Linked DNA regions of Homo sapiens: regions 1, 2, 3, 4, 5 and 7 are each linked to region 6. The links are contacts of gene promoters, found by promoter capture Hi-C in blood cells and fetal thymus (Javierre and others, 2016). All regions are on one chromosome and are shown on one strand. The core of a region is centred on a gene start or on the middle of the fragment in contact, and the rest is flanking DNA. Distances in the headings are between cores, read along the strand shown.

Region 1 (3,456 bases), core at 160-2,659, 390 kb after region 6:
CTTTTTTTCATATGTTTGTTGGCTACATAAATGTCTTCATTCGAGAAGTGTCTGTTCATAACCTTTGCCCACTTTTTGATGGGGTTGTTTGTTTTTTTTCTTGTAAATTTGTTTATGTTCTTTGTAGATTCTGGATATTAGCCCTTTGTCAGATGGGTAGATTGCAAAAATTTTCTCCTATTCTGTAGGTTGCCTGTTCACTCTGATGATAGTTTCTTTTGCTGTGAAGAAGCTCTCTAGTTTAATTAGATCCCATTTGTCAATTTTGGCTTTTATTGCCATTGCTTTGGTGTTTTAGTCATGAAGTTTTTGCCCATGTCCTGAATGGTATTGCCTGGGTTTTCTTTTATGGTTTTTATGGTTTTGGGTCTTACATTTAAGTCTTTAATCCATCTTGGGTTAATTTTTGTATAAGGTGTAAGGAAGGGGTCCAGTTTCAGTTTTCTGCATATGGCTAGCCAGTTTTCCCAACACCATTTATTAAATAGGAAATCCTTTCCCCCTTGCTTGTTTTTGTCAGGTTTGTCAAAGATCAGATGGTTGTAGATGTCTGGCGTTATTTCTGAGGCCTCTGTTCTGTTTCATTGGTCTATATATCTGTTTTGGTACCAGTACCATGCTGTTTTGGTTACTGTAGCCTTGTAGTATAATTTGAAGTCAGGTAGTATGAGGCCTCCAGCTTTGTTCTTTTTGCTTAGGATTGTCTTGGCTACATGGGCTCTTTTTGGTTTCCATATGAAATTTAAAGTAGTTTTTTCTAATTCTTTGAAGAAAGTCAGTGGTAGCTTGATAGAGGTAGCACTGAATCTATAAATTACTTTGGACACTATGGCCATTTTCATGATATTGATTCTTCCTATCCAGGAGCATGGAATGTTTTTCCATTTATTTGTATCCTCTTTTATTTCCTTGAGCAGTAGTTTGTAGTTCTCCTTGAAGAGGTCCTTCACATGCCTTGTAAGTTGGATTCCTAGGTATTTTATTCTCTTTGTAGCAATCATGAATGGGAGTTCATGCATGATTTGGTTCTCTGTTTGTCTCTTATTGGTGTATAGGAATGCTTGTGATTTTTGCACATTGATTTTGTATCCTGAGACTTTGCTGAAGTTGCTTATCAGCTTAAGGAGATTTCAGGCTGAGACGATGGGGTTTTCTAAATATATAATCATGTCATCTGCAAACAGGGATAATTTCACTTCCTCTCTTCCTATTTAAATACGCTTTATTTCTTTCTCTTGCCTGATTGACCTGGCCAGAACTTCCAATGCTATGTTGAATAGGAGTGGTGAGAGAAGGCATCCTTGTTTTGTACCGGTTTTCAAAGGGAATTCTTCCAGCTTTTGCCCATTCAGTATGACATTGGCTGTGGGTTTGTCATAAATAGCTCTTATTATTTTGAGATACGTTCCATCAATACCTAGTTTATTGAGAGTTTTTAGCATGAAGGGATGTTGAATTTTGTAGGCCTTTCTGCATCTATTGGGATAATCATGTGGTTTTTGTCGTTGGTTCTGTTTATGTGATGGATTATGTTTATTGATTTGCATATGTTGAACCAGCCTTGCATCCCAGGGATGAAGCCAACTTAATTGTGGTGGATAAGCTGTTTGATGTGCTGCTGTATTAGATTTGCCAGTATTTTATTGAGGATTTTTGCATCAATGTTCATCAGGGATATTGGCCTGAAATTTTCTTTTTTTATTGTGTCTCCACCAGGTTTTGGTATCAGGATGATGCTGGCCTCATAAAATGAGTTAGGGAGGAGTCCCTCTTTTTATATTGATTGGAATAGTTTCAGAAGGAATGCTACCAGCTCCTCTTTGTACCTCTGGTAGAATTTGGCTGTGAATCTATCTGGTCCTGGGCTTTTTTTTGGTTGGTAGGCTATTAATTACTGCCTCAATTTCAGACTTGCTATTGGTCTATTCAGGGATTCAACTTCTTCCTGGTTTAGTTTTGGGAGGGTGTATGTGTCTAATAATTTTTCCATTTCTTGTAGATTTCCTAGTTTATTTGCATAGAGGTGTTTATAGTATTCTCTGATGGTAGTTTGTATTTCTGTGGGATCAGTGGTGATATCCCCTTTATCATTTTTTATTGTCTATTTGATTCTTCTCTCTTTTCTTCTTTATTAATCTGGCTAGCAGTCTATTTTGTTAATCTCAAAAAACCAGCTCCTGGATTCATTGATTTTTTGAAGGGGTTTTCGTGTTTCTATCTCCTTCAGTTCTGCTCTTATCCTAGTTATTTCTTCTCTTCCGCTAGTTTTTGAATTTGTTTGCTCTTGCTTCTCTAGTTCTTTTAATCGTGATGTTAGGGTGTCGATTTTAGATCTTTCATGCTTTCTCCTGTGGGCATTTAGTGCTATAACTTCCTCTATAAACACTGCTTTAGCTGTGTTCCAGAGATTCTGGTACGTTGTGTCTTTATTCTCATTGGTTTCAAAGAACTTATTTATTTCTGCCTTAATTTTGTTATTTACCCAGTAGTCATTCAGGAGCAGGTTGTTCAGTTTCCATGACGTTGTGTGGTTTTCGTGAGTTTCTTAATCCTGAGTTCTAATTTGATTGCACTGTGGTCAGAGAGACTGTTAGTTACGATTTCCATTCTTTTGCATTTGCTGAGGAGTGTTTTACTTCCAATTATGTGGTCAATTTTGGAGTAAGTGTGATGTGGTGCTGAGAAAAATGTATATTCTGTTGATTTGGGGTGGAGAGTTCTGTAGATGTCTTAGGTCCTCTTGGTCCAGAGCTGAATTCAAGTCTTGAATATCCTTGTTAATTTTCTGTCTCGTTGACCTAATATTGGCAGTAGGGTGTTAAAGTATCCCACTATTATTATGTGGAAGTCCAAGTCTCTTTGTAGGTCTCTAGGAACTTGCTTTATGAATTCTGGATGCTCCTGTATTGGGTGCATATATATTTAGGATAGTTAGCTCTTCTTGTTGCATTGATCCCTTTACCATTATGTAATGCCCTTCTTTGTCTTTTTTGATCTTTGTTGGCTTAAAGTCTGTTTTATCAGAGACTAGGATTGCAATCTCTGCTTTTTTTTGCTTTCCATTTCCTTGGTAAATATCCTTCCATCCCTTTATTTTGAGTCTATGTGTGTCTTTGCACATACGATGGATCTCCTGAATACAGCACATGGATGGGTCCTGACTCTGTATCCAATTTCTCTCTCTCTGTGTGTGTGTGTGTGTGTGTGTGTGTGTGTGTTTCTTGAGACAGAGTCTTGCTCTGTCACCCAGGCTGTAGTGCAGTGGCACAATCTCAGCTCACTGCCACCTCTGCCTCCCGGGTTCCAGCGATTCTCCTGCCTGAGCCTCCTGAGTAGCTGGGACTATGTGCGCATGCCACCACGCCCAGCTAATTTTTGTATTTTTTAGTAACAGGGTTTCACCATCTTGGCCAGGCTGGTCTCGAACTCCTGACCTCGTGATCCACCCACCTCGGC
Region 2 (3,632 bases), core at 612-3,111, 430 kb after region 6:
AGGGATGAGGGGCTGAAGTTTAAGTTGATCACCAATAGCTAATGATTTAATCAATCATGCCTACATAATGAAGCTTCCATAAAAATCCAAAATGGGCTGGGTTTGGAGAGCTTCTGGATAGCTGGAGATGCAGAGGTTTCTAGAGGATGGTGTGCCCGGAGAGAACATGGAAGCTCCACATCGCTTCTCATACATTGCCCTATGCATCTCTTCATCTGTATCCCTTGTAATATTCTTTATAACAAAGAACTGTTTCTCCGAGTTTTGTGAGCCCCTCTAGCAAATTAATAGAACACAAGAAGAAGGTTGTAGAAACCCCAATTTATAGCCAGTCAGTCAGAGCACAGGGTAAACAACCTGGATCTTGTAACTGGCATCAGAAGTGGGGGTCATCTTGTGGGACTGAACCCTCAATCAGTGTGATCTGATGCTATTTCCAGGTAAATAGTATCAGAATAAAATTTAATCAGAGGATACCTAGCTGATGTCTGCTGCAGAAAAGAATTAATTGCTTGTTTGCAGTAGGGAGAAATCACCACACATCTGGAGTCAGAAGCGTGTTTGAGAATATAGTAGGAGAAGCTGAGTTTGTTTTTTCTACGTGGACTACGTGTGGACTCCTCAGGAATGTGACTGGGCTGAACTCACTAGAATTCACTGATGGTATGACTCTCTCTGTCCCAATCAGACAACCATGGCTCAATCTCCTATGGGAAAGAAGGCTGTAAGACAGGAATGGTTCAGCACCATTTTTATAACTAGATTCCAGTCCCAGTTTATAATCTGACTCTTCCAAGCCACTGACGCTGTAAAGGGAGTCCTGGTGATGGTCCTTACTTGTCATCTGGAGCCTCTACCTGCTTGTTACAAGCCCCAGTTTCAGGGATGGTGGAGGAAACCAAGAAGAAAAAAACAGTTACCATTGCAGAATTCTGGAAAGGCCTAAGAATTGGAGAACCAATGCTAGGGTATAGGAAGAGCTGAAAATAAAAGAATTGGCTGAAGGCTCCTAGAGGACACACCCACATAGCTACCCTTCCTCAACCTCAGCAGAGTACTGAAGACTTGCTTCAAAAGAGGTTGAACCAGAGGGACTCTGGACTCCAGAAGAATTTCAGGAATGCCATCATGAAAGCAGAGGAATTAATTAAAAGTGTACACACTGAATAGTGAGAACCATCCTCCTCCCACTCCATCCCCTGACCCACCAATTCTTGGCTCCAAGAACACTAGACATCAGGCTTATACCAGACCAGCTCAGGAGAAAATACTCATAGAACCTAACAGTTGAGGAAGTCTCCTAACAAAATGGTCAACTCTCAGCACAGTTACTCCATGGGAAAACCCACTGGTCAATGAATCCCTGTCATGTACATAAATCAGCTTTTTGGTGCTCCACTCTCATGCACGAACAAGCGGCAAAAGATCGACAAACATTTGAAAAAGGTCTCTAACATCAAAGACAGAGACAAAAACAAACAATCAGAAAACAATAGATTCAGACAATGTAGATTACAAAAGAAAACCTTCAAAAAGCTCTCACTAAAGTCCTTGGAGGAAGATATTGTATTTATGAAAACAAGAACATGATGCTATTTTAAAAAATAAAAATAAGATTCACAAAGTAAAAATATGCTTTTGGAACCTCTAAAATGAATCAGAAGAGCAGAAGATAAAGTTGATAAAATCTTGCAGAAAGTAGAACAAAAAGACAAAGAAATGATTATAGAAGAGAAAGATTGAAATAAAGGATTCATTTAGGAGTTCTAACATGCTAATAAGAACTACAGATAAAAAGAACAAAGAAATTGGGACAATTAATTATCAAAAAAGAAAAATTCCTAGAACTGAAGAACATGTATCTCCATATTGAAAGGGCACATCATTGAATGCCCTTCCACAATCACTTTAAACAGACACACACCAAGGCCAGCACTGAGGTCTCTGAAGATAAACTGTCGTTATTCAACTTAGAGAAGTAAAAAGTTTAAACATACGCATAAGAAAGGACCTTTTCTGGATATTGAGATGACAATACCAAATAAATCCCTGCTTATACGTACATTTTTTCTCAAATAATTATAAGCTAAATAATATCTTACATGCATTAGAGCTTCCTATTTTAAAGAAACAAGACAAAGTAAAAAACACAAAGGTTTTTCACTGGAAGCATATGCAGGTAACTCATAATAATTAGTAGATTGTCTGAATTCTGCTGTACCAGAAGTTTATTTTACCAACTTTTTAAAATATGCAGCCCATGAGGCTTAGAAATGCCTGTTTTCTTAGATCTCATTATTCTTAGATTTATATAGATTTTGACTATATAAATTTCATTATTTTAGTAAATCTTTACTAAAATTATTTATTATTTTTTAATATTAAATACTGAATTTTCTATTTAAAATACAAAAGGTTTAACAACATTAATAATGGCTAATTTATTTATAATGAAACCAAATCTTAAGAATTTATGTTACCTTTAAAGATACCAAAACTCCTGACACTTTAATTCCTTCTCATCTTAGTAGTCACACACTCACCTTGAGGATCAACTTCTTTAGCTAGCTTCAGCGCATCTGAGTTTGCAAGATCAGTGTTGGCTGGAGTAACAGCTAAAATCAGACAGTTCTCCCTCGTGATGAACTGCATAATCATTTCTCTGATCTGATACTCGATATCTGGTGGCTGATCTCCCACAGGCACTTTAGTTATTCCAGGTAGATCAATAAGGGTTAGATTTAACACTGTGTGGAAAGGATAAAGGAGTCTTACATACACCTTCAATGCTAAAAGATAACAATACAGAATCATTTGTCACTTAGCTCAGCCTTCTACTTTGTGTATCTGAACAACTCCAACCCATGTGTGTAGAATAAAGAGCATAAAATAAAAATGGTTTTGCTAGTTTTCTCTATTTTTATGATATGATTGTGCTATGCCAAATGATCACTTTAACATAATTTGAAAGGCACTGATTTGCATGCCTAACAGTTTGCTCAGAAAGCTGTCATATCTGTAACTAGGGGGTTATAATTAAAACACCAAATGAGAAATGCATATGCTATCTGCCAGTCTTATACATTGCCTTCAAGTGGTATAAAAACTCACAGGGTAAGACTGCCCTTTCCTTAAAAAGTATCATTTTTTTTTTTTAATAGAAAGTTAACCACTTAGCCTAGTAGAAAGCTGTTAGCCATTCGTGGTGCCCTGGGTTTACTGAATCAGCTGTACAAACAGAGTCAGTGACAACATGACTCTAGCCCAACCTCTCCATATAAACAATGTTGGCACCAAGTACCCTTGGGAAGTCATAATTGAGCTTATGTCATTTATATTCTGTTTTAAAAGCAATAGAGCTAAGTAGGGAATAAGAAATGAAAATTTGCCCACTAAAAATTTAGTCAGCATACAGGTTATTTCCCATCACACATTATGGATTGGTTATCTAATTTATAAGTTTCTACCGATAGTCTGGGGGAAAAAGTCAGAGCTGATTTCTCAGGAAGAAAATAAATAGGACTATATATGGCTGCAAGACATCCAATAGGGGAAGATGCAACCATAGTAACATGTACCTCTAAGATTTCAGCAAAGACTGAAAAATGGAAGTTTTCATATATACCCTTCTC
Region 3 (3,654 bases), core at 732-3,231, 350 kb after region 6:
GCTCACTGCAACCTCTGCCTCCTGGGTTCAAGCGATTCTCCTGTCTCAGCCTCCCGAGTAGCTGGGATTACAGGCACGTGCCACCAAGCTCAGCTAATTTTTGTATTTTTAGTAAAGACAGGGTTTCACCATGTTGGCCAGGCTGGTCTCTAACTTCTGACCTCAGGTGATCCACCTGCCTTGGTCTCCCAAAGTGCTGGGATTACAGGCGTGAGCCACCACGCCCGGCCAACCCCATTTAATAGAGGAGAAAAGTGAAGCACAGAGAGGTTAAGTAACTCATGCCCATGACTAAACAGCTCAAAAATGGTTGGTTCAGGATTCCAACCTAAGTCCTAGGACTCCAGAGCCCATGGTCTTGTCCATTACTCTTCGAGCATGATTCATCCCATGAAGCACAAAGAGACTCCTTTAACTTTTTAAATTCTCCCCCACAGAAAATATATGTGTATATGTACATTTTTTTTGCAAAACTATGGAAATTGTGTATGTCAATCACTTAACCCCATCTAAATTATGCAGGTAATTGTTCAAAACATAGTTTGCAAAAGTGAATACCTTAATTCAGTTGTTTTCAATATAAGGAAGAAAGAGAATGGGATGCTATGAAAATGTTTAAGGAGCCCTAATCCAGAAGGAAGACTTAGACAGGCAAAGGTGTGTGAGAATGGCCGTGGAGAAGATGAAGCTTGCCAGGAACAGGAACATGTGTGAAGGCATGGTGGAAGTGGGGGCAATTAGTGGCGATAAAAGTAAAAGAAAGTCCGTGCAGAAACTGAGGAGTATGATCCTCAGACAAAGCTAGAAAAGTAGAGAGGGGCCACATCAAGCAGATCCTTGCAATTCTATCAGGAATTTAGGCTACTGAAGCAATTCAGATGGAATGGAAATAATGGTGGCTTCTACTGGGATGACAGCAATGGAAATGGAGAAAAGTGGGCACATTCATGACTTAGGCCAGGCAAAATATTAATTCCAATGATGATTTTTAAAGTGCTTGCAAATTAATAAGATTAACAGATAGCTCAATAAAATAGGCAAAGAATATGATTTAATTTGTAAAAGACTTAATAGTCAATAAGCAGAAGGAAAAACAAACTGTACAAGTGATCTAATGCAAAGAAAAGAAATAACTATTATATTGGCAAATTGCTATTTTTTTATAAGACTTACTACAGGTGAGGGTATACTGAGATTAGCACAATTTAAACTTGCTGAGGGGTGTCAAGAAGAGAAATCTTTCTGGAAAGCAATTTGACATTATGTATCAAAAGTCTTGCACGCGCGCACACACACACAAACACACACACACACACACACACAAACACAGAGACAGAGAGAGAGATCTCAACCTAATAACCTCACAGAATTCTGAACTACAATGATAAGGACATTCATCACAGCATTAGTTGGAAAAGCAACAATAAGATAAACAAACTATAAACTACCTAGTATCTGATGATGTTAAATAAATGAAGGTAGATCCACTTACGTGATGTAATGTAGCCATTTTGAATAACAGTTTTAATAATAACTAATGACATGGTAAAGTATTTACAACACTATTTGAAGAAAATTAGGCTACTAAATATATAATGTGGTTATGCACAAGCATAATGTTTTGGTTTGGATATTTCTTTCCTCCAAATTCATGTTAAAATTCAATCCCCAATGTGGCTATATTGACAAGTGGGGCTTTTAAGAGGTGATTGGGCCATGAAGGCTCTGCCATCATGAGTGGATTAATCCATTCATGGACTAATGGATTAATAGGTTATGGGAGTGGGACTGGTAGCTTTATAAGAAGAGGACTAGCGACCTGAGCTAGCATGCTACCACACTCAGCACCCTTACAATATGATTGATACCCTGCACCAGCAAGAAGGCCCTTACCAGAGGCAGACCCTCAACACTGGGTCTTCCATAACTGTAAGAAATAAATACCTTTTCTGTATAAATTCCTTTTCTGTATAAAGAAATAAATTCCTTTTCTGTATACCCAGTTTCAGGTATTTTGTTATAAACTACAGAAAATGGACTAAGACACATCCACACACACATGCACACACACACAGAGTCACACACCACCATACACCCTTGACATTTTTCAAGGATATAGCCCAATCTTACAAATACCAACATTCTTGAGTAATATTATAGCATGTAATATTTCTCCAAACTCATAAGGAGTTAGATCTAGGCCTCCCTGAAATGGGGCTTCTGTATGGTCACCTGAGGTCACTGTGCACATTACCTTTATAGCATGCACAACATATATTAGTGTCTTAGCAAGTTAACAAACTGCAGTACTTCATGAAACCATCATAATCACGAGATCTCATATACATTAAATCTTCCATTGCTGCAAGTCTACTCTCTGTGCATAGAAAAAGATTTGCACAGATACTATAAAGTGTTAATAGCAATAACTCTTTGAATTATGCACACTTTTATTTATCTACATTTTCCAAATATTTCAACAGTGGATATAGATTATGTTCATAACATCATAAAACCATAGAAACCTGACTGCTTTGGTTACCACAAAAATCATCACCAGCGTCTCCATGAGGTCCTCGATTTCTCACCCTCTTATCTGAATCCTGAGATGCACGCTCACCTGGGGGCTTATTTCATGAATTACCGCAAGATACAAATGGAGCTCATACTTCCCATTTTGGAAACATTCTCCAGAAAAAGCTCTATTATACCAGAACCCCTCTTGACTCTCTGAAAGTCCTCCAAGTTATTTTTTGTGAGGCTTATAAAAGCCTTCAGAGTGGAAGAGATAGCTGATCAATTCCAGTCCTTCTTGACTAGTGCAAACCTGAGTGGTGTATCTGACACCAAACATTAGCCTGCCCTAGGTCACCAAGACAATCAATTCCGCCTGCACTCAGACAGCTTCCCAAGCTATTCAATGACAGCCACACTATTATAGAATCACATTGCCTCAGAGAAGTAACTACGCAAGCATTTGAGGTCTACCAAGGAAGAGTGAGATGGCTTTAACAGCATTTAGCAAATAGATTACAGCAGAAAGTTATTTTTAAAACCATCAAATAGTGGCAATATAAATATTTATTCAGATACTAAACACTTGATAGCTGAAGGACCCCAGGCCAGTATATGGCCATCATTAAGTCAGGGAAAGGCCAAAATGACAAGAATATCCCATGAAGTAGAGACATCTAAGAATGCCTCCAATCTACTGGCCTTGGCAGGAGCATTGATTTGTGTGCACGTGTGTGTCTCCTGATCTTTTCAAGCTTACTGCCCATGGGCTTAATTCTACCAGAAAAGGAATCTGTAAGAGCCACAATTTTGTACCTACAATTGAGACAACTGGAAGTCAATAAGCCTGAATTCTAAGTGGAACAAAAGAAACAGAGAACACACTAGAAGAACTACCATTATGGAGACAAAGGAGGAAAAACCTTGAAGAGACACTAAGCAATGTAGGATCTAGGCCCACCACTGAATGGCATTAATGAAACAACTGGTTTGGTTACTAGCTGGTTGATATTGAACTGATTGTGGGAGTATAAGAGTCAAAATCTTGGTTTTAACTGCTGGCTTTCAAATATAAAATATATAAATATATATAAATAGTCCCAAACATATAAATAGTCCCAATTCTTAAGATACATACAT
Region 4 (3,153 bases), core at 382-2,881, 470 kb after region 6:
TTTCCACAATTCTAGTTATTCTACTTGAAATGCCACACTGTGAAAATATGTTTTCATTAAAAATCCTCCATCTCCTGGTGGTGTTTTCCTTTGGTGTAATTTAGAATTTTCTAGACTTGTTACCAAGGACTAAACCTCCCCTTGCAGGAGTGAGCAGGCATGCTAAATTGAAATGGAAGGTGATCTGATGTAAAACGCCGCTGCCCACAGAGGGAACTGCGTATCAGCTGTGAGAGCACTAAGCAGCAAAGTGATTTAAGAGCATTACAGTTGACAGCCACTTTACTATCTTAAGAGGATTTCATTTTCCATTTTGTCAACAAGGAACAATATACTTTGCATCCAGAAATTAAAGAAGGGTAAGAATGTGTGAGGAAGAACAAGATGCTATTCCAGAAACTCCTTGACCCACTTCTAACAAGCATTATTTCCCCCAGGAATTTGGACGAGGTTAGATAGTAAGCTTATTATAACCACAAAGGAGAAACTGCAACCAAATTGGAAAAGAGAATCAGGACCCAAAATTATCTCACCAGGCTGGAATCATCAGTCAAATTTAGCAAAAGAGATTTACTATGATAATACATGCAAAGTACTGTTCTTAAATCAATGCTAATAGAGGATCCAGGCAAAGTGCAAAAAAGAAAAAAAATTTGGCAGTTACAATGGGCTGCAAGTTCACTATGAACCAGTAATAAAGTGTCCTGGCCCCAAAATTAATGTGATCTAAGACTGAGTTAATTGCAGGTTAATGTCCACAACAGAAGGGGCAGTAGTCCCTCTGAGTTATGTGCTAGGTTGAGCCCACAGGGATTGCATGCAGTATTGGATGTCATGCTTTAACAGCTTTACTGACAAACTGGAGTATATGAAAAAGGACAATGACCACAACGGTGAGGAAACTAAATCCCACATCCCATACTTTCCTACAACAAATTAAAACAAAAGCATAATGGGAATTCTATGCCATTTATTATAAAGGCATTTCTTTTAAAGCTAAACCTTCTTGGCAACTTTCCTGTCTACTAGAAATCCTTCAGTTAAAATTTTTTAAATGAGGTCAGAAAATGATGTATTGTAAATAAAATAAAGAATTGGGGTCAGGCATGGTGGCCTGTAATCCCAGCACTTTGGGAGGCTGAGGCGGGTAGATCACCTGAGGTCAGAAGTTCGAGACAAGCCTGGCCAATATGGTGAAACCCCATCTCTACTAAAAATACAAAAAATTAGCCAAGCATCATGGCATGTGCCTGTAATCCCAGCTACTCGGGAGGCTGAGGCAGGAGAATTGCTTGAACCCGGGAGGCAGAAGTTGCACTGGGCTGAGATCACGCCACTGCACTCCAGCCTGGGCAACAGAGCAAGATTCTATCTTGGGAGGAAAAAAAAAAAAAAAAAAAGAATTGCGCATGGGGCATGCTAAATGCTTCCCTAAGTTCTCATCTATTTAAAGGTCAGATAACTGATATCATGAAAAGTGCCAGATGACTTGACTAAACTAAAATCATAAATGTAATTATCTTAATTGAAGGTGTGCATATGGCATTTAATTACAAAGGAAAAAAATAGCAGCAAAGTTTGTGATAAGTAGGCGATAGCAAGCATCACATTCAGCTAGCATATGATGTTTGAAAGAAATAAATCTGCAAGAACTAGATATGAGTGTGAGGGCATAGATGTTAGTCCTCTAGATACCTTAGCAGATCATCTCTTATATGGCAATTTTTATTTAGTTGAAATTTGATTATTTTAAAGTTTTGAAGTCCTTCCTTCCAACAAAGGACTATCATGGAAATACCTAGAATTATCACTCATTTCTTACCAAAAGCCATGACATAATAACTAACTCTCTGAATTGAGAGAATAAAATAATGTAAAAAGGAGAGTGTTTTATTCATGTTGGCAGTAAAACTGGTTCTATTAATGATGAGAAATACAAATTATAACACTCTAAGAGAAAATAGTTATTTAAACATAGAGGTACTACCTGTCCCAGTCATAGAAAGTTATTTGGTTTCTATAGAAGCAAAGAAGCAATGATATAAGTTATTCATTGATTCATATTGCAAAATAACTCTCTTCAAAATAGCCAATAAATGTACTAGTCTTTCCATTTATAATAAATTCCATGTACTAAATTTTGTGTTATTAAATTTTCATGGAATACAAACTTCTACTGTATTTGCCCCTGTAAATCAAAAATAAAATCCTAAGCCTCCCCAACCGATTGAAATGGATCCCCTCTGGGCCAAGGGAACCCCAGAGAAACCTGAAAATTTGAATTCTCAGCCGTGATGGAAAGGGAGGTTGGACATGTCTTGTTACACCCCCTCCCTCTTAGAGTTTAGACACAACTGACTGACCAGCATTACCATTAAAACAGAGATCATTAAGACCGAAAAAACAAACTCTTTGTGGCAATAAGATACCAAATTCCAACCTGACTCATGTAGCATCACATGACAGATAGCAGATCCTAAAGAAAATCAAAATGTTTTATCTCCAAGTATATTTCTTTGACATATTTTGACATGGTCCTGCAAAGCCATCTTTTATGGAGGAAGTTTGCATTTGCAGATAATCTCCATTAATGCAGCCAGGCTTTTCCCAGGTTTAAGAAAGGATTAACTAAAAGTGTGACATTTTAAGGTCCCCAAAAAAGACATCTGCCATCTCTTCTCTCTGAAGGCTGTTACCTGGAGGCTTCATCTACATAACAAGAACCTTGGTCTCCACAACCTCCCTTATCTTAATTCAAGAATATTTTTCCACTGACTTGAGGTCTTCAGACAAAGCTTAACTCTTTCAACTGATTGCCAATCACAAAATCTTTGAATCTACCTATGACCTGTAACACCCCAACTCTCACTTCAAGATATTCTTCCTTTTTAGGCTGAACCAATGTACACCTGCTATGTATTGATTTATGATTTTACCTACAATTTGTATCTCCCTAAAATGTATAAAACCAATCTGTAACCACTTAAGCTCACTTTCTCAGGACTTCTTGAGGCTGTTTCCTGCGCTATAGTCATTAATATGGGCTCATAATAAACCTTTTGAAATGTTTTACAGAGCTTAGTTTTTTGTCAACACCTCCACTAAAGCTTAAACTGAGTAGGATTTCACAAGATCCCAAATTCAGTATTCAGT
Region 5 (3,638 bases), core at 140-2,639, 450 kb after region 6:
AAGTAACACGTTCAAGAATATTCATATAACATGTATTACGCCTTCCACAGCGTAGTAACTAGTTGTTTGTGTTTTATCTCCAGTGCTACAAAGAAAGTGCTTAGAGAGTAGGACTATGTCTTCTACATCTTTGATTTAACATTCCTTAAGGATACAGAAATGATTACAAGAATAAATGAATGAATGATTCCAAGTCAAAACTGAACTACTATTTGCTGTTTTTCAAAGACTATGAGGTCTTGAATACCTCTTTCAGCATTTTAGAACTTCCAGTGTTCTTTTCCTCGTTCAGTATGAACCAACACTCTAGAGCAAAATCTCTCAGACTTTCCTTTTAGAAGCAGATCTTTTTATGAGCCATCTCCTCCCCTTCTGGTCTAATCAGTTATAGAGACTAACTCAGGATAAGACTCTCAAGAGTATGTTGTTGCTGTCTGGACTTCATTTTCGTATGAAGCTTAATACCATGAAAATATTATATTTTCAATTTCCCAAAACCTGTGTTGGCTTTTGTGATAAGGTTTTCTGGGTTTTTTGTTTTTGTTTTTGTTTTTTTAGCAAGCCTTCAATTACACATTGTGCTTCTTAGGTTGCAGAATTCAGACTATTTTGCTTCTTAGGTTACAAAGTTCAGATTATTTTCCATTCTGTAATATATCCTTTCAATTGGGAGTGGCGTTTTCTGGCCATATGAAAATCTGCTACTCATTAAAGAATTAAAGAACTACTACTATAGGGAAACAAAGTGTTAAGCTATATTTCATAATTGAAGAACTTACCAAAGTTGGAAAAGAAGACAAACTTGTGAAAATTAAGCAAAAGATTTAAATAAAATTTCAAGATAAGCAGCTTAATGAATAATTGTCAAATGAATGCTATGTAGATTTCACAAAGGGAGAGGTCTTTTTAGGGTAGAGTGATCTGTAAAGGATTTATAGAAAGGGTAGAATCTGAATTAGACTTAGGAGACTTCATATAATTGGGAAAAAACCAAGAGGAGAAAAGAGAATATTTAAAACTATAAACAAGTGATTAACAAAAGCACCAAAGAGAAAAAACAAAAGGAAATAGGAGATATACGGCTGGGCAAATAAGAACACATACCAAATTTTTAAAAATAAAAATGTGTGAAATTAACAAGTGAAAGCATAAAGCATTTATGAAGAAGTGTAAGAGATAGAATGCATTCCTCTTTGTGGTTAAATGTTAAATAAGATAATGCACAGAAAGAATTTAATACAATGCCCATTTCATACTAAGTATATTTAAAATGTAGGCTACTGTTATTATTTTTTTAAATGTTCAACATAAAGGTAATGCTGAAATTTGACAAGCACACCACTGGATTGTTATAACCTGTTAGGGAAAGAGATTTCCACAGAAAACAAAACTGAATTCTGATAATAGCTACTTGATTCTTCTTTGTTAACATCCTGAAAGAAGAAATTTTAAAAAAATCCAATTGAGACCCATTGAAAAACAGTGACCAGTAAAAAGTTAGAAGGAATGTTAGTTGTATACACAACATCATATATACAATATTGAGCTCAGTGGTCCTAATGATGATTCTTACTATACCCTATATTTGATTTAAAAGCTAATTTTAGAATACAGCGCTTACATAAGATGGAACTGCATTGCATATGAAAATTCATACTCATCCTAAAAATAATTTGGAGGATAATTATATATCTTAGCAAAAATATTTCTATCTATCACATTTAAAATAAAATTTGAATCCAAAAACACATTTTATATACTTATTCTTAACACACGCTTGTTACCTAAGTTAGTATGTAAATTAACACATATTAAGTACTGTTAATACCCCACAAAAGTTCTGGAAAATAGGTATTCTCCTGGCTAACCTGTAACTTCTCTGTGCTTCAATTTCTTCCTATGTAGAATGGAAATAATAATGATCATGATAATAATGATAATAATATTCCATAAAGCTAAAAAAAGTCAATTTCCCAAAAATGTTACCCTTAAAATGTTTAATATGTATTGTCTTACCTTTATTATTCTTCAGTAGTTCTGAGTTTGTTATTGGATTATTTTAAAAATTATTTCAAGATATAATGATTTTTCGTGCTTCAAAGTATTCCATCGATAAAATGAAAATAGCAGTAGGATGCAGAAGGAAGGAACTATCTATGCCAAATAAGAATAAGTGCTTATCTTTATCTGTTTCCGCCAAAACTTGTGGTTTTGCCCAATGAAAGCCCCAAAGTCACATGGACTTCTATATTTACTAACTCTTGACCCTTAGAGTAAATTAAAAATGACTGAGAATCTGCTGTACTACACACCAAGCTTTTAGTCACACACATTATTTCATGTTAATACTCCAAACAACCCTGACTGTTCTGGGTAAACTGTAACTTCTCTGTGCCTCAGTTTCCTCTATGTAAAATGGGGATAGTGTCACCTACCTCCTAGGATTGTTGTGAGGATTAGATAAGACCATATATTTATTAGGGCCCAGAGAGCAATACCTCAAAATACGGTGTTTTGACATGCTGAACTAAAGAAGCAGCCCCAAGGTCTCTCTCTGGCCTTCACTTGCCTATCTGTTTCTTTAATCTTTTTTTGCTGAAGCACATTGGGAGAGACCCTTTCTAGAATTTCCTTTATATGACCAAGAAAGCTTCTTTATCAAAGAAATGCAATTATTTTAAGACCCCCCGTTTCTAGGAATCCCAATGAAGAGACTAGGAGTCATCACCATGTCCAGACAGACTTCTCATCTATTGTTAGGGCAGCTCCAGAGATTACCTGGGAGATGCTATCTGCATAATAAGACAACTTTTGTTCACAGTGAAGTTCAGCCCCTCGTGTTCCCACTGCCTCCCTCAGAGCTCACAGGAACTTCATCCTGACTATGATTTATCATTGTTCTTTGTGCTCATTCATTCCCCCTAAAAACCAATTACTCCTACACCTCTACTTCTCTTAACCCAGTGAAGAGGGTACTTTAGCATCAACCATGTGGCCCTTCTTTGAGTTTTCCTATTTTTTATGGTTCCCATGCTTATACACATTAATAAATCATTATGCTTTTCTCTTGTTAACCTGTCATTTTTTTATAGGAGTGTCAGCCATGACCTTTATGATGAGGAGCAAAGGGATCACCTCCTTTCTCTCCCCACATTTGGAAAACACTTAGACAAGTGCCCAGAAAGCATGTACATGCTAAAGCTCGTGTAAATGTCATTATTAAAATAATGATAACAGTTATTATAGCTTTTCTAAGAAATAAAGTGTTTTTCCATCAAAGCTAAATAAGCCAATTGAAGGCAGAATCTGAGACATCTCTACGAGTTTCAGCTGTAACCACTAAAGTTCACACTTGAAGAACACAACAATAGCATAATTTTGCATTTGGTACTTGAAATGCACCTTTATATAGCAATCACTCATTTGTTCCAACAGAAAATTAAAAACAATATTTAAATTTAGTCCCATTTTTTTTCCCTTAGTATAGCTTAGTAAGCAAATGGGACAGAAGACTGGACTTTCGCTCCAACTATAATAATTCCTTAAGACCGTTATAGGAGGCCATCGGTTTGGACTGAGCTCCTGCACTAAGCCCAACACATACCAAGCCAAAATGGGGTCACTCAAGCTGAAGTTCC
Region 6 (3,202 bases), core at 530-3,029:
CAGGGTCCAAAGGCTCTTTATTCAGCATGTGATGAAATCTGCCAAGACTGGGTCCTTCCCTTCAAGGCAGTTCCCTTTTGGCCCAGGGTATATCTAGAAATGTCATCCAAGAGCTAGGGCCTGCAATGAGTGCCTCAGGATTTTGCCCAGTACCCTATCCTACTCTGGCTGAACTGGTATCCAAGTTGCAAGACAAAGTCCTTTTCACTCTTCCCTCTTCTCTCCTCAAGCAAAGGAAGGAGTCCCTTTTGGAGCCATAAGCTGTGTTGCCTGGGGTTGGGGGAGGGGTGCTGTAAGCACTTACTTAGCCATCCTGGCTGGTGTCTTACTAGATCGTGCGCTCCCCAGTCCACTGGCTCAGAGCCCAGCACAGCACTAGGACTTGCCTGGGTATTGCAGTTGTTGTGGCCCAGACAGGCTTTCAAGTTTATTTAGGACCTCAGAGCACTTTAGCCCATGGTGGTGGAGGTAGTCAAAACTCAGTTTCTGAAACCTGGGATGGGCAATTCTCCTCTGGCTAAGGGTGGTCTAAATGGTCCCTCCATTGGCAACAGCTAAGTTCTGCCCCGTATTGGCAGCACTGAATTCTAGAGTCCCACAATCGCTGTGCCCTCCCTCCAAGTGCACAGATTCTCTCTCCACACTATGTGGCTGCTGCCAGGGGATGGGGGAGGGGTGGTGTCAGCAATTCAAGATTGTCTTTCTTATCTTCCTCAGTGCTTCTTTCAACAATACGAAGTTAAAACCAGGTACTGTGATCACTTTGTGATCACTGATTTTTGGTTCTTATGAAGGTGCTTTTTTGTGTAGATAGTTGTTAAATTTGATGTTCGTGCATGGAGAACAATCAGTGAAGGCTTCTGTTTGGCCATCTTGCTCTGCGTCCTCCCCAACTTAGGATTTTTTTACTTTATCATGGGTTCATCAGGGTATTGCATGCATTTTTGACTTACAATATTTTCAACTTGTGGTGGTTTATTGAGATGTAACCCTATCATAAGTCAAGGAGCACCTGTACTATGGTAATAGAGACAGCTAGTATATCCCTTTAAATAGGAAACATACAGTGTCATAAGCTCAATGTGATTTATTCAGATTTAGACCCTAGTAATTATAAAAGTCTATACAAGTTTTTTTTTCTTTCTCAGCAATCTTAACTTCCTGTGACTGAGATTCATTGTTTTAAAGTGCATTCACAGTTGAGAAGGTTTACTTCAGAATCTCAGGGAACTGCACTAAAGAATCTGGTATCAATTTTCTGAGGATTTAAAAAAATCATACTTAAATGCTGAGTTATAAAAGATGTTGGCAAGTACAACATTTTTTCCAAACTATACGATAAAGAGCATTGAAATTTATCATGCCCCAAACCCATTAAAATTATCTTCACCTGTAACTGAACATCAGCTGTTATTTCCTTACCTTCTTTTGGCTTTCAACTTCTAGGATGTCTGTTGAAACACCCCTCAATGTTTATGTGGCCTCCAAGGCATACAAACATTTACCAGGGTAACCCCATAAGGAAAGAATTGGAAGTTTCATTTATTTTTTTCCTACCTTTAGTTCTCTTTTTTCCATCTTTCAGATCTTTAGATGTTCTGAGTTTTTCTAGCTGGAGACTGGGGAAACCTAGCTCCCCTCACTGTGGCCAGTGGAAGACTGCTGTGGAGAACCTGAATCCAAAGTGTTTTTTGTTAGGAGACGAAGTAAACAGGCCAGTTTACAGTTTCAATACCAGTATGCCTTTTTCTCTACCAACATCTGTGTGATTTACATCTTGAATCATATAATTCCATTCAGAATGAAAAGCTCAGTTTCTGATTGGCTGAAATGAGTTCTAGTATTCCTTTCTTTGTTAGAAGTCAAAATCACAATGTTCTGGAACATTAGCATGTGTTGGGTAAAGTTGATAACAGTATACTAAAACTCAGATAGCTGCTTCAGTACTGAAGTCAGAACAGTTCTCCCTGGAAAGACAACCAAACTTTTCTCTTATTGTAGCACTACATTGTAATTGCTTATTTAGCTATTTTGTAAGCTACTTTTATTCTGTTACTTCTCTGGTATTCCCAGGGTCCAGGACATTATCATGAATTCAAGAAATGTTTGATGCATAAATAAAGGAATGAAAATATATAAGGAATATTATGTTTACTAAAGGCATAATAGTTTGGCTCTTCCTGACTATCCTGAGTTATGATCAACTCTGAAAAAGGGAGTAATTTTTCAAGTCTATTAAACATAGCAGGGTGGAGGTGGAGGTAAGAAGAGTTGGGGAAAGGTATATTATGAAACATAGAAATACTATTTACTAAATACATATTAACAAATCTTAGCATAATTTAATTTTACTCCAGGCTGCCCCCCATCCCTTTCCCCTGCCCTCTTTTTTCTTGCCTATAGAATGTAAGGAAGGGAACACACTTCTTTGTTAAGGAAAACTGAGTAAGGTTGTCATTTCATTCTGTTATGACTGGAGTTTTTCCTTCTCATCATTCATCAGGTCAATTTAAGTTTTATACATCTAAACTGTGTAACACTGCATATAAAAATAAGTCCATGTTTAAGACAAAGTGGAAAAGTACCAAACACTTTTAAAAAATGAATTGAAGAAAACCTTCTCTTTGACAACTTCGGTTTTCATTTGGGGAGGTGGTATGAAATCATCTAGGTACATTTTTGTCTATTGGGATGAAGAATGCTATCCACTAAGAATATTGATTTAAAAATCAAATGCCTGGACTGGAGGGGAAGGAAAGGACAAAAGACTGCATGCTATGTGCTATTTTACATCAAGTCACCTCCTTCCTGCTATACATGAGCTTCAGTTGATGCCTTGGTTTGGAGCCTTTGAACTTTCTTAGTTATCACTGATTTTAAATGGTAGTCACTGGACCGGGGATACAATTAAAATAATGTAACATGCCATATGAACATTTTAAACCAAGAAACTGATTTTTCATTTTTGAGTGGAGAACTCAGTCCTTAAAAAAATTTGTGGTCCGAAGAAACAGCATTACTAATGAGGACTCTCCCTTTTACAACTGGGGGTTCCTGCCCACATCTTCCAAATACCTCCTTTGCCAGGGCTTGCCTAGGTCAGATGTGAAGTAAATAGAACTGATGAATGATTTTTTTGACTCTCTTGTCATGTAGTTTTCTGTCATCTTAATATGCTGAAGGGGAGCACATTCAGAAGTGA
Region 7 (3,478 bases), core at 724-3,223, 410 kb after region 6:
CAACACTATCAACAAACTTGACCTAAAATACATCTATAGAACACATCATCCAATAATAGTACTTCTACCGTTATACATTTAATAAAATATATGCAAAATATGTAAACTGAAATCTATAATATACTGCAGAGACTACTGAAATAAATGAAAAAAAAAAAGATGTTCATTGACTGGAGCATCCAATACTGTTAAGTCAGTTCTCTCCTAATCGGTCTACGATAGTGCTGTTTGACAGAACTTACTGCAATAATGGAAATGTACTGTATTGACTTTTCCAAGACATTGACCATATGTGGCTATTGAACACTTGACATATGGTAGTGTGAATGAGGAACCAATTATTAAGTTTTAATTTTAATTAATTAAATTTTAATTTAATTAATTTAAACCTTAATAGCCACATGTGGATAAAGGCTAGAATATTGGATAGTACATGCTACAGATGTAACATAATTCCAAGCAAAATCCCAGTAAGCTTTTTGCAGAAACTGACTAGCTGATTACAAATTCAAATAAAAAGATAAACTATTATTTTAAAAAACAATGATAAAAAATACACTATCTGATTTCAAAGCTTACTATAAAGCTATGGTAATTAAGATAGTACATTATTGGCATAGGGTTAGATACACACAGACACCAATGAAACAAAATAGTGAGTCCAGAATTATAAATATAGGTTTAATATATATTAATACATTATATAATATTATATATCATATAATATATATAATATAAATATATATATTATATGATATATAATATATAAATACATATAATATATGATATATAATATATAAATACATATAATATATTATATAATATATAAATATATATTGTATATATAAATAAGTACATGCATGTTATATATAAATAAGTATATGCATATGTTATAGGTTTAATATATAAATATATTAATATAATATATTTATTAATATTTAATTAATATAATATTTAATATGATATATTTATTAATATTTTAATATAATATATTAATATTATTTATATAGTAATATAATATAATATATTAATATATATTATATAATACATATTAATATTTATATATTATATATTATATATATTAATATATATTAAACCTATAACATATGCATAAACATACACATACGTAAACATACATAATTGGTTTCAGACAAAAGATGCCCATGTAATTCCATGGAGAAAGGACAGTCCATTCAAACTAAATGATGGTACTGGAGTAATTACATATCCATATGAAAAATAATGAACTTTGACTCTTACTTCACACCATATACAAAAAAAAAAAAATTGCAGACCTAAATTTAAGGCTAAAACTAGACCAATGGAACAAAATAGAGAACACAGAAATAAATCCACGCACAGCCAACTGATTTTTGACGAAGGCACAAAGAACACACATTGGAGAAGAGACAGTCTCTTCAATAAATGGTGCTGAAAAAACTAGCTTTCCACATCCAAAAGTATGAAATTAGACTCTGATCTCTCACCATATGCAAAAATCAATTCCAAATAGATTAAAGACTTAAATGTATACCCAAAATTATAAAAAACTACTCGAAGAAAACAGAGGAGAAACTCTTCGTGACATTGATCTAGATAAAGATTTTTTGGATAAGAATAAGAAAGTACAGGCAACAAAAGCAAAAACAGACAAATGAAATTACATCACACTAAAAAACTTCTGCATACCGGAGGAAACAACAGAGAAAGAGACAACCTACAAAATAGAAAAAAAAAATTTGCAAACTGTGCATCTGACAAGATGGTAATATCCAGAATATACAAGGAACTCAAACAACTCAATAGCTGACAAACAAACCATCTGACTTTAAAATGGGCAAAAGACCCGAATAGATGTTTCTCAAAAGAAGACGTACAAATAGCTAACTGATATATGAAAAAAATGCTCAACGTCAATAATTATCAGGGAAATGCAAATGAAAAACACATTGAAGCTGGCATGCACCTGGCCAGCTACTCAGGACTCTGAGATGGGAGAACCGCTTGAGCCCAAGAGGTTGAGGCTGCAGTGAGCCATGATTGCATCACTGCACTCCAGTATATGTAAAGAGCAATACCCTGTCTCAAATAAATAAATTAAACTTTTTTAAAACCTAAAACTACAAAATTTCTAGATAAAAGCATAAAAGAAAAAATCTCTGCAAACTTGGGTTAGGCAAAGTCTAATGTGATTATGGGCATAATCAAAAGAGCCATATAAAAACTTGATAAATTGGGCATAATCAAAAGTAAAATTTGCTCTTCAAAAGATACAGTTAAAGAATATGAGAAAATAAACTATAGATGAGAAAGCATTAGAAATATATAATGAAAGATTTGTATCAGAAATATTTTTAACTCATTACTTAATCCTAAGAAGACGAACACAACTCAATTTAAAATAGGCAAAAGATTTGAACAGACATTTCACAAAGCAGATATACAAACGGCCTATAAGGACGTGAACTGATGCTCAGCATCACCGCTAAGATGACACTCAGAGACATGCACATCAATGCTGCCTCACAGACATAACAATGAAAACAATGAAAATAAAACTAACAAGCACCAAGTGTTGGTGAGAATGTGGAGCAATTAAACACTCATATTGCTCTTGGGAATAAAAATTGTACAACCATTTTGGAGAACAGCTTAGTAGTTTTTAAAATTTTTTTAATATGTGCAATTCCTCTCTTAGGTATTTTCCTAAGTGAAATGAAACATATGAACATGGAAAACTTGTGCATTAATATTTACAGCAGCTTTATTTGCAATAGCCCAAAACTAGAAACGACCTAAAGATCCACTAACAGATAAATGGAAGACAGAATATGGTATATTCACAGAATGAGTTACAATTCACCTATTTAAAAAAATGAACTACTGAAAACATGCAGCAGCATGAATGATTCTCAAAAACATTATGCTGAGCAGAAGCCAGGCACAAAGAGTACTTAGTGTATGATTCCATTTACATGAAACTCTAGAAAAGACAAATCTAATTTATAGTGACAGAAAACAGTTCAATGGTTTCTTGGAGCCAGGAGTTGGATACTAGAATAGACACTGACTGGCAAGTGACACAAGGGAGATTTTATGGGTGATGAAAATGTTCTGGTACATGGGTTGACATTTGTCAAAGCTCATCAAACTTTACACTTAGAATGCATACTTCCCCACCCAAGCCTACTGTCTCAGGTAGCCTCAAGGTAACCACAATAAGTTGAAAGAGACAGAAGAAGGGGGTGGAGGGTATTGGCCACATGAAAAATAAATAAATAAAATAGATTTAAGATCTGTGTCTAGGAAAAATCATTGGGTACAGTTATTTGTACATGGAATTAACAAGAAGCAGATAGTAGAGAAGCTTACTGAGTTTTTAAAGTAACTAAATTCACAAAGAAACAAAAGGCCTGGCCTGAAAAAGCCTCTGAGTCTTAAAACAACTTTCATCACCCCAAGTTTTTACAAGAAGAAG

The links. Contacts are between HindIII fragments. The CHiCAGO score rates a contact against its expected background, and 5 or more counts as called.
Region 1: a fragment that was not itself captured here is called in contact with the fragment with the promoter of C1orf105 in region 6 in 2 of 17 cell types (naive CD8 T cells and M1 macrophages); the score reaches 5.6 in naive CD8 T cells.
Region 2: a contact is called between a fragment that was not itself captured here and the fragment with the promoter of C1orf105 in region 6, in 12 of 17 cell types (M1 macrophages, M0 macrophages, naive B cells and 9 more). The highest score is 14.8, in M1 macrophages.
Region 3: a contact is called between a fragment that was not itself captured here and the fragment with the promoter of C1orf105 in region 6, in 1 of 17 cell types (M1 macrophages). The highest score is 5.4, in M1 macrophages.
Region 4: a fragment that was not itself captured here is called in contact with the fragment with the promoter of C1orf105 in region 6 in 1 of 17 cell types (M1 macrophages); the score reaches 7.2 in M1 macrophages.
Region 5: a contact is called between a fragment that was not itself captured here and the fragment with the promoter of C1orf105 in region 6, in 2 of 17 cell types (M1 macrophages and total B cells). The highest score is 6.4, in M1 macrophages.
Region 7: a fragment that was not itself captured here is called in contact with the fragment with the promoter of C1orf105 in region 6 in 10 of 17 cell types (M0 macrophages, total CD8 T cells, M1 macrophages and 7 more); the score reaches 11.0 in M0 macrophages.

What each region holds. Positions count from the first base shown.
Region 1 is chr1:172,027,348-172,030,803 of GRCh38, reverse strand. The region is part of intron 4 of DNM3 (dynamin 3); the gene reads right to left. Among named protein-coding and RNA genes, the nearest start is that of MIR3120, 110 kb to the left of the region's middle. The HindIII fragment of the contact is 4,804 bases long and covers 1-3,456 here.
Region 2 is chr1:171,988,060-171,991,691 of GRCh38, reverse strand. It overlaps DNM3 (dynamin 3), which reads right to left. Exons shown (of 21, transcript NM_015569.5): 4 at 2,544-2,747. Among named protein-coding and RNA genes, the nearest start is that of DNM3-IT1, 130 kb to the right of the region's middle. The HindIII fragment of the contact is 3,571 bases long and covers 76-3,632 here.
Region 3 is chr1:172,064,622-172,068,275 of GRCh38, reverse strand. The region is part of intron 10 of DNM3 (dynamin 3); the gene reads right to left. Among named protein-coding and RNA genes, the nearest start is that of MIR3120, 72 kb to the left of the region's middle. The HindIII fragment of the contact is 2,581 bases long and covers 691-3,271 here.
Region 4 is chr1:171,951,668-171,954,820 of GRCh38, reverse strand. The region is part of intron 2 of DNM3 (dynamin 3); the gene reads right to left. Among named protein-coding and RNA genes, the nearest start is that of DNM3-IT1, 89 kb to the right of the region's middle. The HindIII fragment of the contact is 2,332 bases long and covers 466-2,797 here.
Region 5 is chr1:171,968,624-171,972,261 of GRCh38, reverse strand. All of the region lies in intron 2 of DNM3 (dynamin 3), which reads right to left. Among named protein-coding and RNA genes, the nearest start is that of DNM3-IT1, 110 kb to the right of the region's middle. The HindIII fragment of the contact is 1,859 bases long and covers 460-2,318 here.
Region 6 is chr1:172,419,262-172,422,463 of GRCh38, reverse strand. C1orf105 (chromosome 1 open reading frame 105) reads right to left here and starts at 1,779. Exons shown (of 7, transcript NM_139240.4): 1 at 1,558-1,779. The coding sequence starts at 1,578. The region is part of intron 1 of LOC102724528 (a long non-coding RNA gene); the gene reads left to right. The HindIII fragment of the contact is 10,347 bases long and covers 1-3,202 here.
Region 7 is chr1:172,006,393-172,009,870 of GRCh38, reverse strand. The region is part of intron 4 of DNM3 (dynamin 3); the gene reads right to left. Among named protein-coding and RNA genes, the nearest start is that of MIR3120, 130 kb to the left of the region's middle. The HindIII fragment of the contact is 2,793 bases long and covers 577-3,369 here.